3 separate regions of the Homo sapiens genome follow, and regions 2 and 3 are each linked to region 1. Evidence: promoter capture Hi-C in 16 types of primary human blood cells and fetal thymus (Javierre and others, 2016). All regions are on one chromosome and are shown on one strand. The core of a region is centred on a gene start or on the middle of the fragment in contact, and the rest is flanking DNA. Distances in the headings are between cores, read along the strand shown.

What was found. The method cuts DNA at HindIII sites, captures the fragments that hold promoters and counts their contacts. A CHiCAGO score of 5 or more calls a contact.
Region 2: a fragment that was not itself captured here is called in contact with the fragment with the promoter of KIAA0319 in region 1 in 1 of 17 cell types (neutrophils); the score reaches 5.2 in neutrophils.
Region 3: a fragment that was not itself captured here is called in contact with the fragment with the promoter of KIAA0319 in region 1 in 3 of 17 cell types (megakaryocytes, M1 macrophages and total B cells); the score reaches 5.2 in megakaryocytes.

Annotation. Positions count from the first base shown.
Region 1 is chr6:24,644,699-24,649,333 of GRCh38, reverse strand. KIAA0319 reads left to right here and starts at 3,143. Exons shown (of 21, transcript NM_014809.4): 1 at 3,143-3,598. RefSeq lists a silencer at 3,089-3,298. The HindIII fragment of the contact is 1,579 bases long and covers 2,368-3,946 here.
Region 2 is chr6:24,788,812-24,793,313 of GRCh38, reverse strand. LOC124901280 (a long non-coding RNA gene) reads left to right here. Exons shown (of 3, transcript XR_007059510.1): 2 at 1-68; 3 at 447-515. Among named protein-coding and RNA genes, the nearest start is that of ARMH2, 7.9 kb to the left of the region's middle. The HindIII fragment of the contact is 484 bases long and covers 2,871-3,354 here.
Region 3 is chr6:24,442,116-24,446,935 of GRCh38, reverse strand. It overlaps GPLD1 (glycosylphosphatidylinositol specific phospholipase D1), which reads left to right. Exons shown (of 25, transcript NM_001503.4): 18 at 1-98; 19 at 1,105-1,210; 20 at 1,297-1,390. Among named protein-coding and RNA genes, the nearest start is that of MRS2, 42 kb to the right of the region's middle. The HindIII fragment of the contact is 620 bases long and covers 1,948-2,567 here.

The DNA.
Region 1 (4,635 bases), core at 1,894-4,393:
ATGTTAATAGTAGAGTAGCATACATCATAGAGGTAATACAATAGTACATTTCTGTGGGAAAAGGGTTATTCTGGCATAAATTGCTTTCATTTAGAAGAGCTAAGTTAGAACTTCAGATCACATTGCAAAACATAGATGGGTGAAAGTCTAAATTCTTAAAAAAAAAATACAGTGTAGTATACTAGATTAAATAAAGGATTATCGGCTGGGTGCAGTGGCTCATGCCTGTAATCCCAGCACTTTGGGAGGCCGAGGCAGGTGGATCACCTGAGGTCAGAAGTTCAAGACTCGTCTAGCCAACATGGTGAAACCCCATCTCTACTAAAAATACAAAAATTAGCCAGGCGTGGTGACACGTGCCTGTAATCCAAGCTACTCAGGAGGCTGAGGCAGGAGAATCACTTGACCCTGGGAGGCGGAGGTTGCAGTAAGCCGAGATCGTGCCACTGCACTCCAGCCTGGGCGACAGAGCAAGACTGTCTCAAAAAAAACCACTTTTAGTCTGCTTTCATGAGCAATAGTTATCAATGAATTAACCTACTAATTTGCTATATCTTGAGTTTTTTACTTGGAATTTTTCAAAGTTTTTCCAGTGTAGTAGCTTTGCTTGCCTTACCTTCCTGCTTAGTGAAATTCCAACATAGAATCTTCTGGGTTTTTTTTTTTTTTTTTTTCAGTCTCAACCTCCTGGGCACAAGTGATCCTCTAGCCTCAGACTCTTGGGTAGCTGGGATTACAGGTGTGCACCACACACCCAGCTACTTTTTATTTGTTTTTGTTTTTTGTACAGAGAGGATCTTGCTATGTTGCCCAGGCTGGCCTCGAACTCCGGGGCTCACTCAATCCTCCTGCCTCGCCCACAAAGTGCTGGGATTATAGGCATGAGCCACTGTACGTGGCCTAAAGTCTTGTATTTCAATGAGGCAGCACTGTCATTACGCTAAGCACCATTTTTACCACTGATGTGGAATGTACTTTAACCTTCCTAAACCTCAGTTTTACCCACCCTCAAAATAAGTTATCTTTTATTGTACAAATGTCCCAACCAAAAGCATAAGCAAGAGCAGACAAAGTTAATTATACTAAGGATACATCATTTTATCCTTACTACCTCTTGCAGTGTCTGGCATATAGTAGGAGCTCAATGGATGTCCACTGAATGCTGAAAAGAAGTGAAAGGTAGTAGCCTCACATCTGTGTCCTAAAGAAGGAGACTAACATTTTCATACAATACCAAAATAGATATATTCATTAAAAATGAAAATAGATATTCATTACAGTGTCTCTGAGTTAAAAAGATGGTATAGTTAAACATTCTGGGCTAAGCCTGTGTGTGTGTGTATGTGCTAAAAATATGTTTCTTTAAAGGCTAATCAGCCAAGGATCGTTGGGGACAAAATCAGATTCATTGGCTTGATGCATTGAAAGAGTACCTGTGGAATGCCATGTGAGCACAGAAAGGAGGAAGTGTCTTTTGTAAAGATTTGGCTTCCTATTAAAGGATTCCAGGGAGAGTCTTGGAATCAGAGCTGGGATCCAGTTGGTTGCTGTTTCTGAGGCAGATTGAGAGAAAGGGGGATTAATGAGGGATTGGGTGCTGTCAGGAGGTGAAGGGAGTTTAGCAATTGGGTATCCCCAGTTATGGATGGGAATAGTAAAGCAAAGGTAGAAAGTAGTAGTCATTCAAAAATGGAACACAAGGAGTTGTGTTGTTTTGTACCTGCTGCGTGACTTCAGAGGAAACAACATTGCCTGTTAATTTTGCTTCTGACTTTGTCCTCTCAGCCTGATCATTGATCATTGGCAGTACTAACTTTTCCAAGTCCAAGCTGATTTTCACTCTTTGAGTCCTGGACAGGTTTTTACTCTTTAGTTTTTATTTATTTATTTATTTATTTATTTATTTATTTATTTATTTATTTATTTATTTTGAGACGGAGTCTTGCTCTGTCGCCCAGGCTGGAGTGCAGTGGCACGATCTCGGCTCACTGCAACCTCCGCCTCCTGGATTCAAGCGATTCTCCTGCCTCAGCCTCTCAAGTAGCTGGAACTACAGGCGCGGGCCACCACTCCCGGTTAATTTTTTGTATTTTTAGTAGAGACGGGGGTTTCACCGTGTTAGCCAGAATGGTCTCGATCTCCTGACCTCGTGATCCGCCCGCCTCGGCCTGCCAAAGTGCTAGGATTACAGGCGTGAGCCACCGCACCCAGCTGGTTTTTACTCTTTAAATGTGCATTATCTTATTTGATTCCCAGAATCATCCTATATGAATGCTATTATCTTCATTTTATAATTGAGGAAACAGGTTTATCTAGATTAGGTAACTTGTCTGAGGCTCTTCGGTAAATACGAGTAGCCAAGAAGCTTATTCATCAACAGTGTGTGACTCAGCCCTAAGCACTGCACTTATACCTCCTAGTAATGAGATGTGCGAGGAATGCCCTGGCTACCTTTTCTGCTCATGATATTATCCCTAGATGCTTTCGCATCTTTATTAAAACAGTAAAAATGCAAGAGTCTTCCACCCAAGTTTTCTGTGGTTTAGATTATCACGTTCCTCAAGATGCAAATGTCAAACTATACTGGGCATCCAGTTAACCTGCAAGGCCTGGAGGTGATGGGAGCCCCTCCTAGCACAGGTTCCCAGTCTCAGTCAGAAAGCACCTGCTCAAAATAGAAAGATAATTACAGAGTAGGGGCCAAAGAGACTCCCACTGGAAGAATGGAACTTGTGTAGCTGGGGTGACACAAGCTGGGGACAAGCTGGGGGACACATTCGCGAAGGGTGTTTGACCCAGGCAGTGCACCCACGGCTCCCTTGAGCCACCCTGGCCCGGGTGTTTATTTGGAAGGAGTGTTCATCCCCCAGACTGTTTAGGGCCACGGTGACAGGGAAGGGCTTGGTGAAGGAAAGCAGGTAGGGTATGAAGGCCGCTCAGGTTCACGAAAGACTTTTGCTTGGTCCCCTGCGGGGTGGGAGTGTGTCGCCCCGGTGCGGGTACTTAGAGCGCAACCGGGGAGCTGAGCAGGGGAGCTGAGCAGGGGAGCTGGGCAGGGGCGGCTGCCGCGCCCCACATCCCTGAGGGCGTGTGTGCGCGTGCGCGCGCGTCGCCGTGGTAACCGCGGCGGCGGAAAGGCGCTGAATCACTGGCGCGCGCTTTCCCCGAGCCTGCAGAAGCTGCCGCGGGCGGTGGGCGGGGATCCCCCGGGGGTGCAACCTTGCTCCACCTGTGCTGCCCTCGGCGGGCCTGGCTGGCCCCGCGCAGAGCGGCGGCGGCGCTCGCTGTCACTGCCGGAGGTGAGAGCGCAGCAGTAGCTTCAGCCTGTCTTGGGCTTGGTCCAGATTCGCTCCTCTGGGGCTACGTCCCGGGGAAGAGGAAGCGAGGATTTTGCTGGGGTGGGGCTGTACCTCTTAACAGCAGGTGCGCGCGCGAGGGTGTGAACGTGTGTGTGTGTGTGTGTGTGTGTGTGTGTGTGTGTGTGTGTGTGTGTAAGACCTGCGATGACGACGAGGAGGAACAAGTGGGACGGCGAGTGATGCTCAGGGCCAGCAGCAACGCATGGGGCGAGCTTCAGTGTCGCCAGCAGTGACCACAGGTACGGTATCTACTTCCCAGAGCGCCTGGCCGAGAAATAGGAAAGAGGGCAGCCAGTAGGCAGGCCAATACCCAACAAAAGTAGAATCGAGACGCCCTGAGTTCAGAAGGTGAGTTTCTTAAGATTCTTCTGGGCATTCAGGAAAGGGCATTTTTTGATTGCTGCACTGATTGTTGACTAGTAGGGTGGAGTCGGGGAAATTTGAGTGTCTTTTCCCAACCTCACGAATTGCATTTTTTTAGAAGTAAGGAATCGTTTTCTTTAAACTTCATTCAGAACTATTTATGTGATCTTTCCTATTATTTGCTAAATGCATTTTGTCTCTGTTCCTTACCATAACCTGAAGCTTAAAATCTTTCTCTTCTTCCCTTTGAATTCCCTCCAAGGAATGTCACAAATTAATCGGGAGGATAAACCTGAAATTTTGAGAGTTATCATCTTAAGGTCATTTGTTAATTAAATACAAGGAGGAAAAATATGATATACATACTCATGTGCACTTTTATTGCTGGTTTGTTCATCAAAACATTTTTGTTTGTCGGTGAAATGTTAGTATTTTTTCCACTGCTTGAATTGAAAAGTTGAATGATGTTTTTGATAGTAACAGAAAAAATAAATTGTAGACAATGTTCCCCCCCACACACAAGAATTTTGGAAGTAAATGTTGGTATTTATTTCTTTATTCCTGAAATACATGCTCACTTTCCAAATGCTTCAATTTATTATAAGAAGACCACAATTGTAGAGACTACTAAAGTTATGCCAAATCTAAACTTTTATTTTGTGCTTTTTTTAGTATTATTTTTAATTCAGATGAGGAAAACTGGAGGTGTCAGTTCAGTTATAGACGTAGGAGTCACAGAGAAAGGTGAATTCCTCTGTAATTTGAAAAAGGGAAATGTAAACATATTACCTAAGTACTCTGATTTATTTGTATTAACCATTTGTAATGCATTTGCATTTGTAATGCAAAATGCCGAGGCAAGAACTTAATTTTTGTTTCGAAATAATGAAAATAATTCAGCCAAAATCTTTAT
Region 2 (4,502 bases), core at 1,863-4,362, 140 kb before region 1:
CCCCAGAAGAAGAAGGGAAGAGCTGAGGCAAGCACCTGAGGGCTATTCTTCCCAAAGTCACTAATCAGGTAAGTCCCTCATCTCCACTAAAACCAGGAGTGTTGCAGCTATTGGAGATTCCTACTCCAGGAAGAAAACATTAGATATGGAAAAGAAGCATATATGCAACCAATTAAAATGTATCAATTCATGTAAGGATAAAAAGAAAAGAAGTAGCTTCTTCTGTATCTTTCCAGAAGTATTCTTTCTATATATAAGAAAATATACATCTATCCCTTACGTCGTCCTTGTTTTAACATATAGTAGCATTCTATACATACATAATTTATTTCACACTTTGTTCTACATCTTAAAGAGTTTGATTCTTTTCCATTGCTTCAGAGTATTTCATTGTATGACTGTACTATACAGTTGACCCTTGAACAATATGGGTTTGAACTGCTCAGGTCCACTTATATGAAGATTTTCTTCTGCCTCGGCCACCCGAGACAGCTAGTCTGCCACCGAGACTCCCCTTCAGCCTACTCAATATGAAGATGATGAGGATGAAGACCCTTATGATGAACCACTTCTGCTTAATGAATAGTAAAAAATATTTTCTCTTCTTTATGATCGGCTTAATTCTTTTCTCTACCTTACTTTATTGTAAGAACACAGGATATAGGCCGGGTGCAGTGGCTCACGCCTGTAATCCCAGCACTTTGGGAGGCCGAGGAGGGTGGATCATGAGGTCAGGAGATCGAGACCATCCTGGCCAACATAGTGAAACCCCATCTCTACGAAAAATACAAAAATTAGCCGGGCATGGTGGTGTGTGCCTGTAGTCCCAGCTACTCAGGAGGCCGAGGCAGGAGAATCGCTTGAACCCAGGAGGCGGAGGTTGCGGATCGCACCACTGCACTCCAGCCTGGTAAACAGAGCGAAACTCCGTCTCAAAAAACAAAAAACAAAAAAAACAACAACACAGGATATAATACATATAACATACAAAATATGTGTTAATCAACTGTTTATATTATCAGCAAGGCTTCCAGTCAACATTAGGCTAATCATTAAGTTTTGAGAGAGTAAAAAATTATATGCAAGGCTGAGCATAGTGGCATGCCTGTAATCTCAGCTACCTGTAAGACTGAAGCAGGTGGATCACTTGAGCCCAGCCTAAAAAACATAAGACCTTGCCTCAAATAAAAAACTAATTTCAGCCGGGTGGGGTGGGGCTCATGCCTGTAATCCTAACACTTTGGGAGGCCTAGATGGGAGGATTGCTTGAATCGAGGAGTTCGAGACCCGTCTTGGCAACATAGTGAGACATCTCTACAAAAAAAATCAGCCAGGTGTGGTGGTGTGTGCCTATAGTCCCAGCTACTTGGGAGGCTGAGGCAGGAGGATCGCTTGAGCCCAGGAGGCAGAGGTTGTAGTGAGCCAAAATTGTGCCACTGCACTCCAGGTGACAGAGTGAGACCGTCTCAAATAACAATTTCAAAACAGAGAATTTATCTAGGTCAGGTGTGGTGGCTCACGCCTGCAATCCTGGCACTTTGGGAGGCTGAGGTGGGCAGATCACCTGAGTCCAGGAGTTTGAGACCAGCCTGGCCAACATGGTGAAACCCCCATCTCTACTAAAAATACAAAAATTAGCCAAACATGGTGGTGTGTGCCTGTAATCCCAGCTACTCGGGAGGCTGAGGCAGGAGAATCACTGGAAGCCAGAAGCAGAGGTTGCAGTGAGCCAAGATCACACCACTGCACGCAAGCCTGGGTGATAGAGCCAGACTCCATCTCAAAAAAAGAAAAAAAAAGAAAAAAGAAAAATTATCTAAATTTTAAAAGCAGAAGATAGCCAAAGAAAATTTATATTAGCCAGGCGTGGTGGCACGCGCCTGTAGTCACAGGTACTCGGGAGGCTGAGGCAGGAGAATCTCTTGAACCCAGGAGGCGGAGGTTGCAGTAAGCTGAGATGGTGCCACTGCACTCCAGCCTGGGCGACAGAGCTGAGACTGTCTCAAAAAAAAAAAAAAAAAAAAGAAAAGAAAAATTTATATGCAGATTTTCAACTGCACAGGTGTTGGCTTCCCTAATGGCTGCCTTGTTCAAGGGTGAACTGTAATTTATACAACCAGTCCTATACTGATGAACATTTAAGTTATTTCCAATATTTTGATAGTTCAAAGTTGTAATGAATAACCTTAAATATGTGTAATTTCACATGTGTGAGCATATCTGTTGAATAAATTTCTAGAAATGGAATTGCTTAGCCATACTTACATCGTTTGCTTTTGTTTTATTCTGTTCCCTGCATTGTGACTTTTGCCTCAACTTCTGTTGACTCTGCTTGGTCAGCACGGGATTATGATGTTTTTTACAGCTTACTGTCATTTTAATAATGTTTGGGAAAGACAGAAATTAAATGGCTCTGTTCAATTAACATGTTTAACCAGAAATTGCTGAAGGCCTCTCTGTGACAATGTTTACAGAAATTTTGGTTAACATTTTATCTACAGAAGATTAGCTTATAAGGTAGTCTAATAATATGTTCTATTCAAATTCCTTTTTGGTCTCTGGAACCTCTTTAAGTTGAAGGAGGTAAGATACAAGGTTCAGATTCGAGCTGAGGCATTTTTACTGTAAACCTTGAATTTTAAGCTGGCTTACCAAAGCTTTAACAACAGTGATTTTGTTTTCCTTTGCTGTCCCTCCTAAGTTCATCTCTCCCAACTTTTGAGTTTTGCTAGAAGCAAATCAGAGGATTTGCTTAAGGATTTGAAAGATATTATTTGGGAGGTGATCTCGGGAACTAGCAATAGGGAAGGGAAGAAAGCCAATAAAAGATGTATTATGAAGAAAGCTGCCACTGTAGGTAAACGGAAGCTTAATCCTGCTGGGGAACCATCTGGTAAACACACAACACACATGCCTTAAGAATTATTTCATCCAGAGGTCCCAAGGAGCTCAGATATGTATACACCAATTCTTATCCTTCTTGGTTGACCTAACAACCTAATTAGTTACAACCTAAAAGTCAACTGAAATATCTTGAAGGGTGTGGGATAGGCAAGGAAGTTTTCTAAACAAACCAAAATTACGAGGGCCGTAAGGCAGTGTGGTGGACGTTTGTTGCGTTTTGGCTCACTAGAATTTATTCTTTCTTCTAATAACACGTCAGTTTATTTGGGGGAGATATCTTACCCATGGTGTAGTCTTAAAATTCATTTCTATCTGCTCTTGGATTAGCTTTTCTCTTCCCTTCCTATAATTATCCTTTATTTGGTCTCATTGCATCCACCTCCAAAAGAATTGGAAATAATTGTGGTCCATCCTTTTCTAGCTCTTGACCTTGAAACTAATTCCAAAGCTTCACCATTAAGCATTATGTTAAGCATGGGTAGCATAGTTTATTTCAGGTTAAAATTCTTTTCTTTTCCTAGCTTACCAAGGGTTTTTACCAGAAAGGGTGTTGAATTTTATCAATGCTATTTTACCATCTATTAAGATGATATGCTTTTTCCCCTTTAATATAAAGAACTTCATGTTTACTAATATTATAGCAGTCTTGCATTCCTGAGATAAACCCTAACTTGGTCATCGTTTTATCTTTTAGTAGATTAGACTTGCCATTTTATTTATGATTTTTCAATCTGTATTAATAAGGCTCTAGATTCCCCTACTCCAACCTTACGGTCCATCCTCATTACCTTCTTTTTTTTTTTTTTTTTTTTTTTTTTGAGATGAGGTTTCGCTCGTTGCCCAGGCTGGAGTGCAAAGACGCGACCTTGGCTCACTGCATCCTCTACCTCCTGGGTTCAAGCAATTCTCCTGCCTCAGCTTCCCAAATAGCTGGGACTACAGGCATGCACCATCACGCCTGGCTAATTTTGTATTTTTAGTAGACAGGTTTTCACCATGTTTGTCAGGCTGGTCCTGAATTCCTGACCTCAGGTGATCTGCCCACCTGGGCCTCCCAAAGTGCTGGGATTACAGGCATAAGCCACCACACCTGGCTGGTCCATCCTCAAATCTTGATATCAGTTATGCTAGCCTTGTAAAATATATTGACAAATTAGTTCAGTCTAATCCAGGCTTCATGCATACTGTTTTTCCAACTGATTCTTATCCATTTGCCATTTCCTTAACGAAGCTCGACTGCATTTTATTAAACCAACTTCAAAGAACTTGTTCTAATGGGCCAGGCTTGATTGACTCCCTGACCCCTTCTCCAAGGTATTTTCATTGACATGTTTTTTGTTTTGTTGAGACAGAGCCTCACTCTGTTGCCGAGGCTGGAGTGCAGTGGCGCAATCTATGCTCACTGCAACTTCTGCCTCCCAGATTCAAGCAATTCTTGTGTGCCTCAGCCTCCCGAAGAGCTGTGACTACAGGTGTGCACCACCACGCCCAACTAATCTTTTGTATTTTTAGTAGACAAAGCATTTTGCCATGTTAGCCAGGCTGATGTTGAACTCCTGTCCTCAAGTGATCTGCCTGCCTCAGCCTCCCAAAGTGTA
Region 3 (4,820 bases), core at 1,008-3,507, 200 kb after region 1:
GAAGACTTCTCCTGGTTTGGATATTCCCTTCACGGTGTCACTGTGGACAACAGAACCTTGCTGTTGGTTGGGAGCCCGACCTGGAAGAATGCCAGCAGGTGAGGCTGATGCTGGGGGCTGGGAACCATGAACACAGGGGCAGGTACCTGCTGCTATGGAGCGCACTGAGCATGAGGCTGAGGGAAAAGGGCTAGGAAATGCTTGACTTTTGAAGGAAAAGCCAAGGCTCTGGGCAAGATTGCAAATTCTCCTCCTTAGAAATTTAAAAATACAATAGACAAATGTATTATTTTCTCACAGTTCTGGAAGCTAGACGTCCAAGATCAAGGTTGAGGTCAGAGGGTTGGTTTCTCCTGAGGCCTGTCTCCTTGGCTTGCAGATGGCTGTCTTCCCTCTCTGTGTGTCTGTGCCCCATTCCTCACTTCTGTTTTTTCTTTTGGGAGGAGGGGGTGAGGGTTCACTCTGTTGCAAAGGGCAGAGGGCAGTGGTAACTCACTGCAGGCTCGAACTCGTCCTCCTGCCTCGGCCTCCTGAATAGCTGGGACTACAAGTCGTGTGTGCCCATGCCTAGCTAATTTTTTTTTTTAATTTAAAAACATTTTTATAGGGATGGGTTTTTGCAGTGTTGCCCAGGCTCGTCTCAAACTGGCCTCAAGTGATCCTCCTGCCTCTCCTCTTCTTTGAAAGACACCAGTCCTATTGGATCAGGATCCACCCAAATGACCTCATCGTAACTTAATCACCTCTTTAAAGACTCTGTCTTCAAGTAGTCACATTCAGAGATACTGGGGGTTAGGGCTTCAGTGTAGGGATCGGGGGGACCACCACTGAGCCCATAACAGTAGGTACCCCTATATCTCTATCCCAGAGAGTCTGCTGGGAGGCCTGTCAGTTGGGAGGCAGGATGGTGGGTGTGGCACCTGGAGAGCCTGGATGTTGCGATTAACTCCAATAGTCCCCACACTTCCAGGCCTGGGGTCGCAGAGACAGAGCCTGCTGGGAGGCCTGGATGGGGGGAGGTGCATTTCCTTTCCTTGCTCCTGAGTACCTGGCCAGCTGTCAGTCTTGTGCCCTGGCAGCTAAGCCCAGTGTGCTTCATTCTAGGCTGGGCCATTTGTTACACATCCGAGATGAGAAAAAGAGCCTTGGGAGGGTGTATGGCTACTTCCCACCAAACGGCCAAAGCTGGTTTACCATTTCTGGAGACAAGGTATGACAAGCCCTCCCCACACAGGAGAGTGGACACTCCAAGGAAGTTTTCTCACCTATACAATATTGATTTATTGTGTCTCACAGGCAATGGGGAAACTGGGTACTTCCCTTTCCAGTGGCCACGTACTGATGAATGGGACTCTGAAACAAGTGCTGCTGGTTGGAGCCCCTACGTACGGTAGGTCACACACTGTGAAACTGTGCTTCCTTTCAGTCATGTGGCTGCTTGTACATGTCGTATTGGAGGAAAGTGATGAGATCTGGAGCTGAACAGATCTAGGTTTCAATATTTCCTTTTTTCATTAATAACATTCTGTGTAACTTTGGGGAAGTTACTTAACCTCTCAGAACTTTTGTATCACCATCTACAAAACTGAAATTGTAAATACCTATTTCAGGCCGGGTGCGGTGGCTCACACCTGTAATCCCAGCACTTTGGGAGGCCAAGGTGAGAGAATCACTTGAGGTCAGGAGTTGGAGACCAGCCTGGCAACATGGTGAAACTTTGCCTCTACTAAAAATACAAAAATTAGCCAGGTGTGGTGGTGCATACCTGTAATCCCAGCTACTCGGGAGGCTGAGGCAGGAGAATCGCTTGAATCTGGGAGGCAGAAGTTGCAGTAAGCCAAGATCATGCCACTGCACTCCAGCCTGGGCAACAGAGCAAGACTTCATCTCAAAAATAAAATAAAAATAAAATAAAATAAGATAAAATAAAATTTGTGTTTCAAAGCTTTGTTGAAAATGACATATGAAAGTAACTTAGTGTATTTTTAAAGCCCCTATCCCATGGAACTTGGAGCCAGAGAAAAATTGTATAAGTCAGTTCACTAGGAATAGGTCCACTATGAGGACCTATCTTTTATTTTTCTTTTTTGAGACAGTCTTGCTGTGTCGCCCAGGCTGGAGTGCAGCGGTGTGATTATGGCTTATGGCAGCCTTGACCTCCTGGGCAAAGTGAACCTTGCACCTCAGCCTCCTGAGTAGCTGCGACTACAGGCAGTCAGCCACCACATTATCTAATTTTTTATTTTTTGTAGCGAGAGGGTCTCAACATGTTGGCCAGACTGGTCTCTAACTCCTGGGCTCAAGTAATCCTCCCACCTTGGTCTCCCAAAGTGCTGGGATTACAGGCATGATCCACTGCACCCACCCCTGAAAACATACTTTATATAAACCATTATTTTGTTTACTTTATGGGAAAGATAGTCTTTAAAAAAAAAAATAAATAAGAACCATTTCCTCCCAGATTATAAAGGTGAATTATGCTTATTGTGGAAACTTCTGAAAATACAAGGAAATATATAGAAGGAAAAAAAAAACACCCCTTACCCAGATATTTAAAAACTGAAGCTTATACTATATATGATATTGTCATGCCTAATTTTTTTACTTATATCTTAAGCACATTCTCATGTTAGTAAATATTCTTCTAAAACATGACTTTTGATATCTGCATTGCATTTTTTTAATGCCAGCATTTACTAACATCATCCTGTTGCTGGAATTGTAGGCTCGTTTCCAGTTTCACACTATTGTGAATAAGTAATTATTGAACACTCATGTACCTAGTCTTTGACTGCCTTTCTGATTAGTTTTTTGGATAGATTCCTGGAGATGGAATTACTGGAGTAGAGGTTCTAATCTTTCTAAAAGCTCTTGTTATATATCATCAAACTATTTTTCAGAAAGATTGTTGTTTCTTGCAATATGGGAAAGATTTGAATAATAAGCAGAAGTGGGTCAGACAGGCGGGGTGCAGTGGCTCACGCCTGTAATCCTGGCACTTTGGGAGGCAGAGGTGGGTGGATCAGTTGAGGTCAGGAGTTAGAGACCAGCCTGGCCAACATGGTGAAACCTGTCTAAACCTACTAAAAATACACAAATTAGCCAGGCATAGTGGCACGCTCCTGTAATCCCAGCTACTCCTGAGCCTGAACCACAACAATTGCTTGAACCCTGGAGGCAGAGGTTGCACTGAGCCAAGATGACACCACTGCACTCCAGCCTGGGTGACAGAGTGAGACTCAGTCTCAAAAACAAAAAAACAAAAAAACAAGTGGATTAGGCAAAGGAATGGCTAAATTTTTCATTAAATCGAAGACACAGCATTATAACAAAAAAAAAGTGCTGACTTAGCTTTGGAATCATGTTGGAAGCCAAAAGAATGAGGGTCGTGATAACTCAGTATACCACTGGAGGCTATTTGAGTAAGCAGCAAAACTGTTTCTCATAAATGCAGAATGTTGGCAAACTGACAAACTGCATTTGCCACCCAGAAGGAAAGCTGAGGGCAGTCACGCCCCAAGTGCCGTGTTTCTTGTGATTAGGCACATCTGAAGCCTGTTAATAATAATATGAACCTGTGATCAATTAAGCAGCTGACCAATCGTTACCTCCTCCTCCCTGCTTTTGCTAACCAATAAATGGGAAGGGCTGTGGAAGCTCGGGAGCTAGCTGCCTTTGCTCACTAGAAGCCGGGAGCTCTCTTCTTCCTCGGTTCCCCTTCCTTTAAAACAGTTTCTTTTGCTTCAAGTTTTCATTTCTACGTTCGTCCTCCTTCGTTCAGTCTTGTAATGACGCTCTCAAGCAGTAACAGTAGTAATTGCTGTGATGACGGTCTCAAGTAGTAACCATAGCAGTCAGCCACAGAATCATTTTTGCTTTTCAGAGTCTAGGGAATGATTTCTAAGCTCTTGCAACACACATTATTAACTTTATTTTCTTCACCACTCTTTCTACCCAAGTGTTGTGAATTAGAGTTTCTCAAACTTTCTTGGTTTTGGTGCCCTTACTCTCTTGATAATTTTTTTTCCTATGATAAAGTCCAATATAAAATAGAAGGTCAGGCATGGTGGGTCATGCCTGTAATCGCAGCACTTTGGGAGGCTAAGGCAGGAGGATCACTGGAGGCCAAGAGTTCAAGACCAGCCTGGGCAACACAGTGAGACCCTGTCTCTACAAAAAATTTTAAAAATTGGGCCAGGCGCAGTGGCTCATGCCTGTAATCTTAGCACTTTGGGAGGCTGAGGTGGGTGGATCATGAGGTCAGGTGATCGAGACCATCCTGGCTAACACAGTGAAACCCTGTCTCTACTAAAAACACAAAAAATTAGCTGGGCGTGGTGGTGGGCACCTGTAGTCCCAGCTACTTAGGAGGCTGAGGCAGGAGAATGGCGTGAATCCCGGAGCCAGAGCTTGCAGTGAGCTGAGATTGTGCCACTGCACTCCAGCCTGGGTGACAGAGTGAAATTCCATCTCAAAAAAAAAAAAAAAAAAAAAAAAAAAAAAAAAAAAAAAATTAGCCAGATGTGGTGGCATGCACCTCTGGTCCTAGCTACTCAGCAGACTAAGGTGGGAAGATTGCTTGAGCCCAAGAATTTGAGGCCAGCCTGGACAATATAGGGAGACCCCATCTCTACAGAAAAAGAAAAAAAGGTAGGCATAGTGATGGGCACATGTAGTTCCATCTACTGAGGAGGCTGAGGTGGGAAGATCACTTGAGCCCAGGAGTTCAAGGCTGCAGTGAGCTATGATCACACCCACTGCACTCCAGCCTGGGCAACAGAGTGAGACCCTATTTTTTAAAAGATAAATAATAATAGAAA